2 separate regions of the Homo sapiens genome follow, and region 1 is linked to region 2. The links are contacts of gene promoters, found by promoter capture Hi-C in blood cells and fetal thymus (Javierre and others, 2016). All regions are on one chromosome and are shown on one strand. Each heading gives the region's core, a stretch centred on a gene start or on the middle of the fragment in contact. The rest is flanking DNA. Distances are from core to core; before and after follow the strand shown.

Evidence for each region. Contacts are between HindIII fragments. The CHiCAGO score rates a contact against its expected background, and 5 or more counts as called.
Region 1: a contact is called between a fragment that was not itself captured here and the fragment with the promoter of WDR44 in region 2, in 1 of 17 cell types (neutrophils). The highest score is 6.0, in neutrophils.

What each region holds. Positions count from the first base shown.
Region 1 is chrX:118,701,180-118,705,997 of GRCh38, reverse strand. It overlaps LOC124905207 (a long non-coding RNA gene), which reads right to left. Exons shown (of 2, transcript XR_007068306.1): 2 at 2,480-3,330. Among named protein-coding and RNA genes, the nearest start is that of IL13RA1, 24 kb to the left of the region's middle. The HindIII fragment of the contact is 1,861 bases long and covers 694-2,554 here.
Region 2 is chrX:118,344,126-118,349,257 of GRCh38, reverse strand. WDR44 (WD repeat domain 44) reads right to left here and starts at 3,152. Exons shown (of 20, transcript NM_019045.5): 1 at 2,678-3,152. The coding sequence starts at 2,754. RefSeq lists enhancers at 387-981, 2,477-3,020, 3,562-3,611, 3,802-3,921. The HindIII fragment of the contact is 5,332 bases long and covers 979-5,132 here.

The sequences.
Region 1 (4,818 bases), core at 375-2,874, 360 kb before region 2:
GCCTGGGTGACAGAGCGAGACTGTGTCTCAAAAATTAAAAAAAAAAAGCAAAATGGACAAGTACCTGAACTAAAATGATGTAAAGATGGATGAAGAGATTCAATAACCATTTAAAAAGTGAGATCTCCAGGCATGGTGGTGCACACCTGTAGTCCCAGCTATTCAGGAGGCTGAGGCAGGAGGATCACTTGAGACCAGGAGTTTGAGACCAGCCTGAGCAACATAGTAAGGCCCCCTTCTCAGATAAAAAAAAAAAAAAAAGAAAACAAAGTGAGATTGTTGGACTTGTCTGATCAGATGTGGGGAAGGGAGGAGAGTGAGGATTCTAGAGCAGCAAGCTCTTCATATACCAAATCTAGCCCACCTACTTTTGTACAACCTGTAAGCTAAGAGTGGTTTATTACATTTTTAAGTGGTTGGAAAAAACTCAAAAGAATATCTTGTAACATATGAAAATGACATGACATCCAAATTTTAGCACTCACACAATTTGACTGGAATATAGCCCTGCCCATTTCTTACATATTGTTCAGTAGCTGTTTTCATCCTGCAGCAGCAGTTGAGTAGCTGCAGCAGAGAGTGTATGGCTTGCAAAGCTTCACATATTTCTTCTTTTTTTTTTTTTCTGAGACGGAGTCTCACTCTGTCGCCAGCTTCACATATTTCTATAAATAGTCCTTTATAGGAAAAGCTTACTGACCACTAGTCTAGGTGACTTGTAAATTTCTGGCCAGTGTCACTGGATAGGAAGGGGTGTCCTCAACTGAGACGGAGAACAGAGGAGGAGGAGCAGGTTGAGAGGAAAGAGGAGCATGGTGATTGTGAGGTGCCTGTGGATCACCTAAGGAGAGAAGCTCAGCAAACAGCTGGGTGTCAGGCTCTCGAACTTGGAGAGAGGCCCCACTGTAAACTGAGTAGGTGAATTTCGCCATTCTTCCACTACTCCAGAAGTGAATTTCTAAATTTTCAGAGTCTCTTCCCATTAATTTGGTAAGGGGCTTAAAGCTCTAATTTTATCTTCAATCTCAGTAGTTGGTTTAGAAATAAAGTCTTACTGTCTTATAGAATCCTAAAGACATGGCACAGGGTGGATGAAGACTACAGGGCTTTTAAGAATTTGAGAAGCTGGAGTTATCTACAATTTAGTCTGCCATCTTACTAGGATGTAAGGGCTTATGGCTGTTCAAAAGCTGCAACTTTGCCTTTTCCTGTTTAAATTATAGCTTAGTGCTGCGGAAAAGGCATGAATGGATCTTCTGATTTTGGTGCTCTAGGTTGCACATAGGCAGAGGGAAGAAAACTGAAACCAAAAAGGCAGCTTTTTTTTTCTTTTTTTTTTGAGACGGAGTCTTGCTCTGCTGCCAGGCTGGAGTGCAGTGGCGTGGTCTTGGCTCACTGCAACCTCCGCCTCCTGGGTTCAAGCAATTCTCCTCCCTCAGCCTCCCAAGTAGCTGGGATTATAGGCACACACCACCATGCCTGGCTAATTTTTGCATTTTTAGTATAGATGGGGTTTCACCATGTTGGCCAGGCTGGTCTTGAACTCCTGACCTCGTGATCCACCCACCTCGGCCTCCCAAAGTGCTGGGATTACAGGCATGAGCCATGGTGCCTGGCCAAGGCAGCATTTTTATATTCCTGAATTCACATGGATTCCTTCTGAAAACAATTGTTGTTTGTAATATAAAAAATAATAAGGCCGGGCACGGTGGCTCATGCCTGTAATCCCAACACTTTGGGAGGCTGAGGCGGGCAGATCACTTGAGGTCAGGAGTTCAAGACCAGCCTAGCCAACATAGTGAAACCCTGTCTCTACTAAAAATACAAAACTTAGCCGGGAGTGGTGGCGGGTGCCTGTAATCCCAGCTACTCGGGAGGCTGAGGCAGTAGAATCGCTTGAACCCAGGAGGCGGAGGTTGCAGTGAGCCGAGATTATGCCATTGCACTCCAGCCTGGGCAACAGAGTGAGACTCCGTCTCAAAAATAATAATAATAATAATTATTATTATTATATTGGGGAGAGAGTTAGAAAATTACCTATCAGGTACAATGTTTACTATTTGGGTAATGGCTATACTAGAAGCCCACTCCCAGTACAGAATATACTCATGTAACAGACAAGCACATGTACCCCCTGAATCTAAGATACAATAGAAGCAATATCAGGCCAGGCGCAGTGGCTCATGCTTGTAATCCCAGCACTTTGGAGGCCGAGGCAGGCGGATCACTTGAGGACAGGAGTTTGAGACCAGCCTGGTCAACATGGCAAAGCCCTGTCTGTACTAAAAATACAAAAATTAGCTGGGCGTGGTGGCACACACCTGTAATCCCAGCTACTTGGGAGGCTGAGGCAGGAGAATCACTTGAACCTGGGAGGCAGAGGTTGTAGCGAGTGGAGATCACGCCACTGCACTCCAGTCTGGGTGACAGAGCGAGACTCCATTTCAAAAAAAAAAAAAGAAAAAAGAAACAACATCAATTCCTCTGGACACCATTTATTTGTGAAAAAAATAGTTTGAACACTTATCCCCAAATCATGTCATTTTAGGAAGCTTGATAACAGAGGTAGAGGTGGGGACTGCAAAGACCTGGGTGTGGGCCTGAAAAAGGAGGCTGGGTACCATGTAGCAATTGCCTTCAGGTGTTAGTGAGCTGAGTTTTTCCTCCTCCTTCCTCCCCTTTTTATTCTCTTAGATCTCTCTTCTTTTTCCCTTGATTCCTCTCAAAGTGGTGGCTTGAGTGTGAACTGTTACACCAGATTCTCTGGGTTCAAATTCCAGCATTGCCACCGATTGTGTGATCTCAAACAAGTTATCTAGCTTTGCTGTGCCTTAGTTTCCCCATTCATAAAATGAGGGATATGTGTCATTACCTAACAAAGTTGTAGTGATCATTGAAGGATTTAATTTAGAACAGTGCCGGGCATGCATTTAAGCATTGTACGAGTTATTAACATCACAATTCCCTTCCACACCCTGCTTTCTTTTGTCATTATTTACTGTCCTGTGATGAGCCCACTTAAATGACTGCCTAAGCATGATTCTTGTTTTATGAATGCCGCAGTTGTTGCGGTTTGCTTAGTTGTGGTTCTATGTTTGAGTTAACCAGAGTAACATAAACCTCTGTGACTCAGGGGTGAGTTCTCAGCTGGACAAGTTAATTCTTTGTGTTAGCCACCTTGGTAAAAAGGTCTGTCTCTCAAACGAACAAAAAACAAAACAAAAAAACAACCAAACAAGCAAACTTGAACTGGGAGAGCCTTTCTTGGCATGTCTAGTAAAACACTCTTTCCATCTTCACCACGATGTCAAGATGTCTAGAAGGCACCTCCTGTGGGGAGAAGTAGGTTTATGGGGAGTAAGAAGCAGAGAGAAAAAGCAAGGAACCCAGATAAAGTGTCTCTGAAGTTGTACCAACCTTTTTTTAGACTAGATATCTCAGATGTTTATCATTTTGTTTCTTCTTAGAGTTTAAAAAAGATATTTCCTCCTTTGTCTAGTATTAATTCATATTTATTTAATAATAAAATTGAACATTAGTTCCTATGTTTATTGACCACTTGAATTTTTTCTTCTGCAAATTGCCTATTCACGTTCTTTACCCATTTTCTTTTCTTTCTCTTTTTGAGAAGGAGTCTTTTTCTGTTGCCCAGGCTGGAGTACAGTGGCATAATCTCAGCTCATTGCAACCTCCGCCTCCTGGGTTCAAGCAGTTCTCCTGCCTCAGTCTCCCAAGTAGCTGGGATTACAGGCTTGTGCTACCATGCCCAGCTAATTTTTAGTATTTTTAGTAGAGATGGGTTTTCCCCATGTTAGCTGGTTTCGAACTCCTGACCTCAGGTGATCCACCCACCTCAGCCTCCCAAAGTGCTGGGATTACGGGTGTGAGCCACTGCACCCAGCCTACCCGTTTTCTTATTGAGAAATTTCATCTTATTGATTTGTAAGAGCTCTTTTTATAGTAAGAATATTTATCCTTATCCTATCATGTATACTACAAATATTTTACTATTATTTTCCTTTTGACTTTATAATTTTTTTTTTTTTTTTTTAGACAGAGTCTCGCTCTGTCGCCCAGGCTGGAGTGAAGTGGTGCAATCTTGGCTCACTGCAAGCTCCGCCTCCAGGGTTCAAGTGAATCTCCTGCCTCAGCCTCCTGAGTAGCTGAGACTACAGGCACATGCCACTGTGTCCAGCTAATTTTTGTATTTTTAGTAAAGACTGGGTTTCACCATGTTGGCCAGACTGGTCTCGAACTAGCCTCAGATGATCCTCCCACCGTAGCCTCCCAAAGTGCTGGGACTACAGGTGTGAGCCACCATGCCCAGCCTATAATCTTTTTAAATTTAAATTTTATATGATCAAATGTATTAATTGCTTTTCCTTTTGACTTCTGGTTTTTAAGTCTTCTTTAGAAAGACTTTCCTCACCTCTACTGCACATATAATAATCTATGCCCAGTTTTAGTTTTTAAAGGATCTTGTCTTTTACATTTAAATCTCTAATCAATTTGAAATTTATTTTTGTGTAAATAGAGAGCCCTTAAATTTTGTGCATAAGGCCGGGTGCAATGGCTCATGCCTGTAACCTCAGCACTTTGGGAGGCGAAGGCGGGTGGATCATTTGAAGTCGGGAGTTCCAGACCAGCTTGGCCAACATGGTGAGACCCCATCTCTACTAAAAAATACAAAAATTAACCAAGTGTGGTATCACGCACCTGTAATCCCAGCTACTGAGGAGGCTGAGGCAGGAGAATCGCTTGAACTTAGGAGGTGGAGGTTGCAGTGAGCCAAGATTGTGCCACTGCACTCCAGCCTGG
Region 2 (5,132 bases), core at 1,903-4,402:
AAAAAAGAAAAGAAAAAAGAAAATAAAGAAAACCTGACCTAAAATATCAATAAAAAAGCATTATAAATACGGCATATATTGCAAAGCTGGGCAAGTGAAGATCATCTGCCACTGTAGAAAAGTAGGCTGTACTGGAATTAAAAGTCTCTAAAAAAACTGGGCTGATTTTTAACTTATTAAATTTGCTTTCAAAGAGTAGATTAACAAAGCCGAAGACATCATTGGAAGGAAAATGCAAGAAATAAATTAATTTTAGGAAATAGCTTGTGTATTAGGATTGTGCTAATTAACAAAACATGAGATAAGTCTCCACTGCCTATTCAGTTTACTACAATTTGTTGACATAGTCTGTGTACTCCCAAACACACAACAGCAAGGAACATTTCTGAAGTGCCCAAATTCAGTCTATTAACCTTAGAAATTGTATAGTTTGCCACTCCAGATCATATGAAGGAACAGAACATATTTCTGATGACCAATATCTAGTAAGGCAATCTGTTTCCACAAATCAAGATTTCTCACTACATTTCTAGGTTATAAGTTGCCCACCCAGATCTCCTCACGGTGTCTTATGCAAATGATACAACCTTCCACAAAGGATAGAGGAAAATGTAAATGATGCTAACCTTTTTCTGCCCTCAGTGCTGCCAGTTCTTTTCAGATGCAATTCTCCAGATTAGTCTATTGTCTTTCCAATCCTCTAATACAGAAAGGAGCCCTGAAATCCACAAACTGACCCTGTAGTTTTATCCATAGAACTCAACACACTTAGTAATTGGGCAGGTTAAAGTTAAAATTAGAAAGCTGAGTTCCAAAAAAACCTTTTTCAGTTTTCACCTAATATCAGAGGATCAAAGTGCTTGAGAAGCTGTATTATCTCATGAGGGAAGAAGTGACTCTATCAATTCTATCAAAATGACTCATCCGGTTTAGATAAGTAAAATAGGTCCAAGTTCTATATATCTCCCAAAATAAGCTTTGTGTAAAGTTAACAAATTTGCCAATGCCAAGAAAGGAAGGAGAAAAGCATGAACATTTTGAATGCTTTCTCTGTGCCCAGGTACTGGACTAGACAGTTTACACAGGTCCTGATATAACTTGCGTCCTTTGAAATTAAACTTATTCAGTGGAAAGAACAATATCCACAGAGTAGTTCTAAACTGATCAGCTCATAAACTGATGATTTCCCTCCCCCACCCCAATACACACACACAAAAGTACCAAAGGACTTGGTGTCTCATTCAATCTGAATTGTCAGTTCATTACTTTGAAGGGAAAACCACACACACAAAAATTAAGTTTCACGGAAGTCCAATACATTTCAAAACCCAAATGTATTTCCTATGCTCTACACCTAGCTCTAAACTTGTCTCAGATATTGAACTTGAAGGAGATTCGGTGTCATCTCAAGATTGGCCACTGCCACCCCAAAATCCCACAACAGTGACATGAAGGTTGGTGGAAAGACAAACATCTGAAATCTACCAACGTACATTGCTTTCTGATTTTATTACTGTAACTTTTTGGTGCATATTGTGTATAAACATACATTAGTTTTTAGAATGACTTCTAGCATGCATGGCTAACTATACTTGCATCACAGCGGGTTATTACTCCCACGGAGTAAGTGTGAGAATTGAAGGCAGTGAACTTCTCGAACCATATTAGTCCTTTATACTAACATCTACATTTTACCAATCCTCAAGTTCTTACAGCATGAAAATATATTTCACTGCCTCTATTTCCACGTACATTCGTAGGGGAGTTCGGCGAAATCGCTTTAAAGCACTACCCCAACTTTGAAAAGTGGAGAAGTGGGTAAGTAAATACAAGTCCTAGTCAAGCGAGCATTCCAACTACTGTACTTCCTATTCAGAATCACCCATATTAATCACCACTAAAACATCTTGCAGAATTAGATAAAGAACACAAAGCTGGGGCTCTCCTTCCAATCACCAGATTACTCAGCACTTGTTTGTCCCTCTGCAGTCAGTTGTGCACATTTCTTCTGTCTGGCCATCCTTTTAGACCGCATTCTGCCTAATAGGGACCGTGTATTCGATTTCCTTTACCTCACGATAAGGTGTTATTTTAATAAAACACTGTTGATCTAGAGTACATTCGCTAGAGGACTTTCTTAAGCAAATACCCAACCTTCCCCCCGCTCCTTTTCGCTGTGTGCAAGAAAAAGAGGACGGCAAATAGGGGAGAGTTACAGCCACCTCTGAAGTGAATAGGTAAGTTAGCGGTAAACGGGAGAATAAAAAACTACAAGTTACATTTCTCCTGTTACTGCTCCTTTAATCTACGGTCCCCGAGGCCAAAACGGATGTTTGAAAGGTAAGCTCAGAACCCCACAGATACAAATCTCCGACTCAGGCACGTAAGCTGTTCCCCCTCACAGAAGGCTGGATCAGAAGAGAAACGGGCTCCGAGACCGACCCTGGGACCGTTCAGTAGGGAAACGGCCGGGAGGCTGCCCGAGGTGGCTGACTCCCCCTTCTCCGAGTCACCCCGCCCTAAGAAGCCCCAGGTCTGGGTTCTGAAGTCCTCCAGTGAGACGGGGAGGAACAGCGGTGGCGGACACAGCGGGACCTGGGAGGGGTGTAGGGGGAAGACACAGGAGATGCGGGGGGCTTGGGATGCCCGGCTTCCTGTCATAGCTGCAGTCACTTACCCCACGGGGTAGCCGCCCCCTAGGTGCACATCTTCAGGGGCATCATAGAATTCCTCGGTGTCGCTTTCCGACGCCATTTATAGGACACACCCGCGGGTGAGGGGGCCGGCGCCGCCTGGAGGAAGGGTGACTCTTGTCTCCTCCTCGTCGACCTCCACCCGGGCGAGACTGGGGAAGTGGGTCTCGGGCGAGGCTGAGGGAGCAGACGATCTGTAGCGAGGAGACTGTTAAGGAAAGGGGGCCGCCCTCAGTTGCCGGGCTTCGGGAATGACCGGCAAAGCGGCCGCCTGAAGAGGCGGCGGTTGGTCCAGGGAATGTTGCTGCCACCGCTCCCAGTGATAGGTGTATAAGGAGCGCGAAAGAGGCGGTGGCTCCTCGCAGTAAGGGAAGAAGGGCGCGCCGGCTACAGCGGCTCCAGTTTCTCCCGCAGCAGCAATTTACAGCAGCTGGAAGAGCTAGTTGCCCGCAAAATACCGACGCGCACCTACCCTCGCGAGATTTCGGAGGGGCGGTAATACGTGGGCGGGGCGAAGAGGTGGCGGGGGCGGTTCCAGAGAGGCAGCGCTCCGATTACTTCGGCCCGAGAAGCCTATCAAAACGGCGCAAGCGCGTTGAGGGCGTTCGGTGAGGGCCGGAAGTAGCCGAGAAGGGAGGGGGTGAGCCTCCCGAAGGGAGGAGTCTAGGACCTGCGCAGGAGCAGCGTGGTGCCCTGGCTCTGAGAGCGCGCGGCCGACGTAGGTGGGGTCAGGCAGAAAGTCTTACTCCCTAACTCTGCAGTTCCAAAGAGACGCGTTTTGAGAGGGGTGATTTTGAGTCGGTCTTTTACTTGTAAAGAAATACTCTCGGGAAACGTTGGTGTGGACATTTTGGCGTATATTTACGATGTCTTACTATCCAAGCCCGGAATGTCCCACCCTAGGGCGTCGGCAGGTCCACCACCTCTGGCGTTACGAGAATAACTCGCCCTTATTCACTACGAGATCTCTAATTGAGATCCCTAGATATGATCCTGCCGGCCAGAGGGTGGGGTCCTTGAGATATACACGGGGAGTGTGCCAGTTCCATGGTGTAATGATGGATTTATTGCTGGAGCTGAGCCAGTATTAGGCCTCCGGTTACTTTTTCTCCGCACATGTCTGTCGCTGCCAACACAGTGTGAGAGAAGTTCTTACATACTGCCCAAGATGTGCGTCAGCTAAATGGTAAATATTTATTGAGCAGATATCATTGCAAGCCTACGAGCTAATGGCTTAATTCTGATCCTCAACTGCCCAGCGTCCGGTGATAAAAATAGAAAGGTACTTTTTAAAAAACCGAGATGTTCCTTCTTAAACCACGGGTCATTGACCATCAAGGTGATAACATTGACTTTCAGTATGATCACACAGCATATTTATTTCTCCAACTGACATCATGATAGGCATTTTGAGCTGTTCGTGCAGCCTCAATTAGTATTCAAGAAAAGGCTGGATTGGAGCCAGGGGTATGGTCTCAGAGAAACTGGAAAGGGGCTCTAGACTTTGTCAAGCAATCAGGGCAAGGTCTGCTGTGGTCTAGTGGACTTGGGTAAAAACCAAATGTCATATACTGTATATTCTATAATACCCCAGGGAGTTTAGGGAAAACACTGCGTAATCAAATATATTAATATTTTTGCAGCAAGATATATGATTGTTCATACGGGATAAATAAATACAAGTAAATAGCCTCATTCAGTTTGAGTCAGACGCTTCTGCCAAATAAGTTTAAGATAGATCTATTTGACTGTCAAATAAATTACTAAAAAAAAAAAAAAACAGAAACTTGGTTTCCAGAGCTTTTGAAGTTTCAGAATTGGAGACAAGGGATTTGTGGATCCTTGTGAGGGTATGACTTTTGTCAAACCTAAAAATTATTAGGTTTTATGTGTCTTAAACATGTTAATTAACTTCCTAGGTATAAAAATGTAACTCAAAGTACTAACTTTTAAAAACGTTTTGCTCACTAAGATAGGTTTTTTTGTTTTCTTTTTGGATTATGGAAAGATACCAGATATAAGGTAGGGAAATATATATTTATGGAAAGATGTTAACTACCTGAATGTATTCTCTTCCTAGATATCTAATAGTGAATTTATGGCTTCCAAAGAAAAAAAAGTTAGTTTTCTCTATATGATAGAGGTGTTAGTTCCAGGCGCGGTGGCTCACGCCCGTAATCCCTGCACTTTGGGAGGCCGAGGCAGGCGGATTTCTTGAGCTCAAGAGTTTCAGACCAGCCTGGGCAACATGGTGAAACCCTGTCTCTACAAAAAATTCAAAATTTAACTGGGTGTGGTGGCATGTGCCTATGGTCTCAACTACTGTGGAGGCTGAGGTGGGAGAATCGCTTGAGCCCAGGAGGTTGAGGCTACAGTGAGCTGAGATAGCACCACTACACTCCAGACTGGGCAGCAGAGCCACACCCTGTCTCTCACACA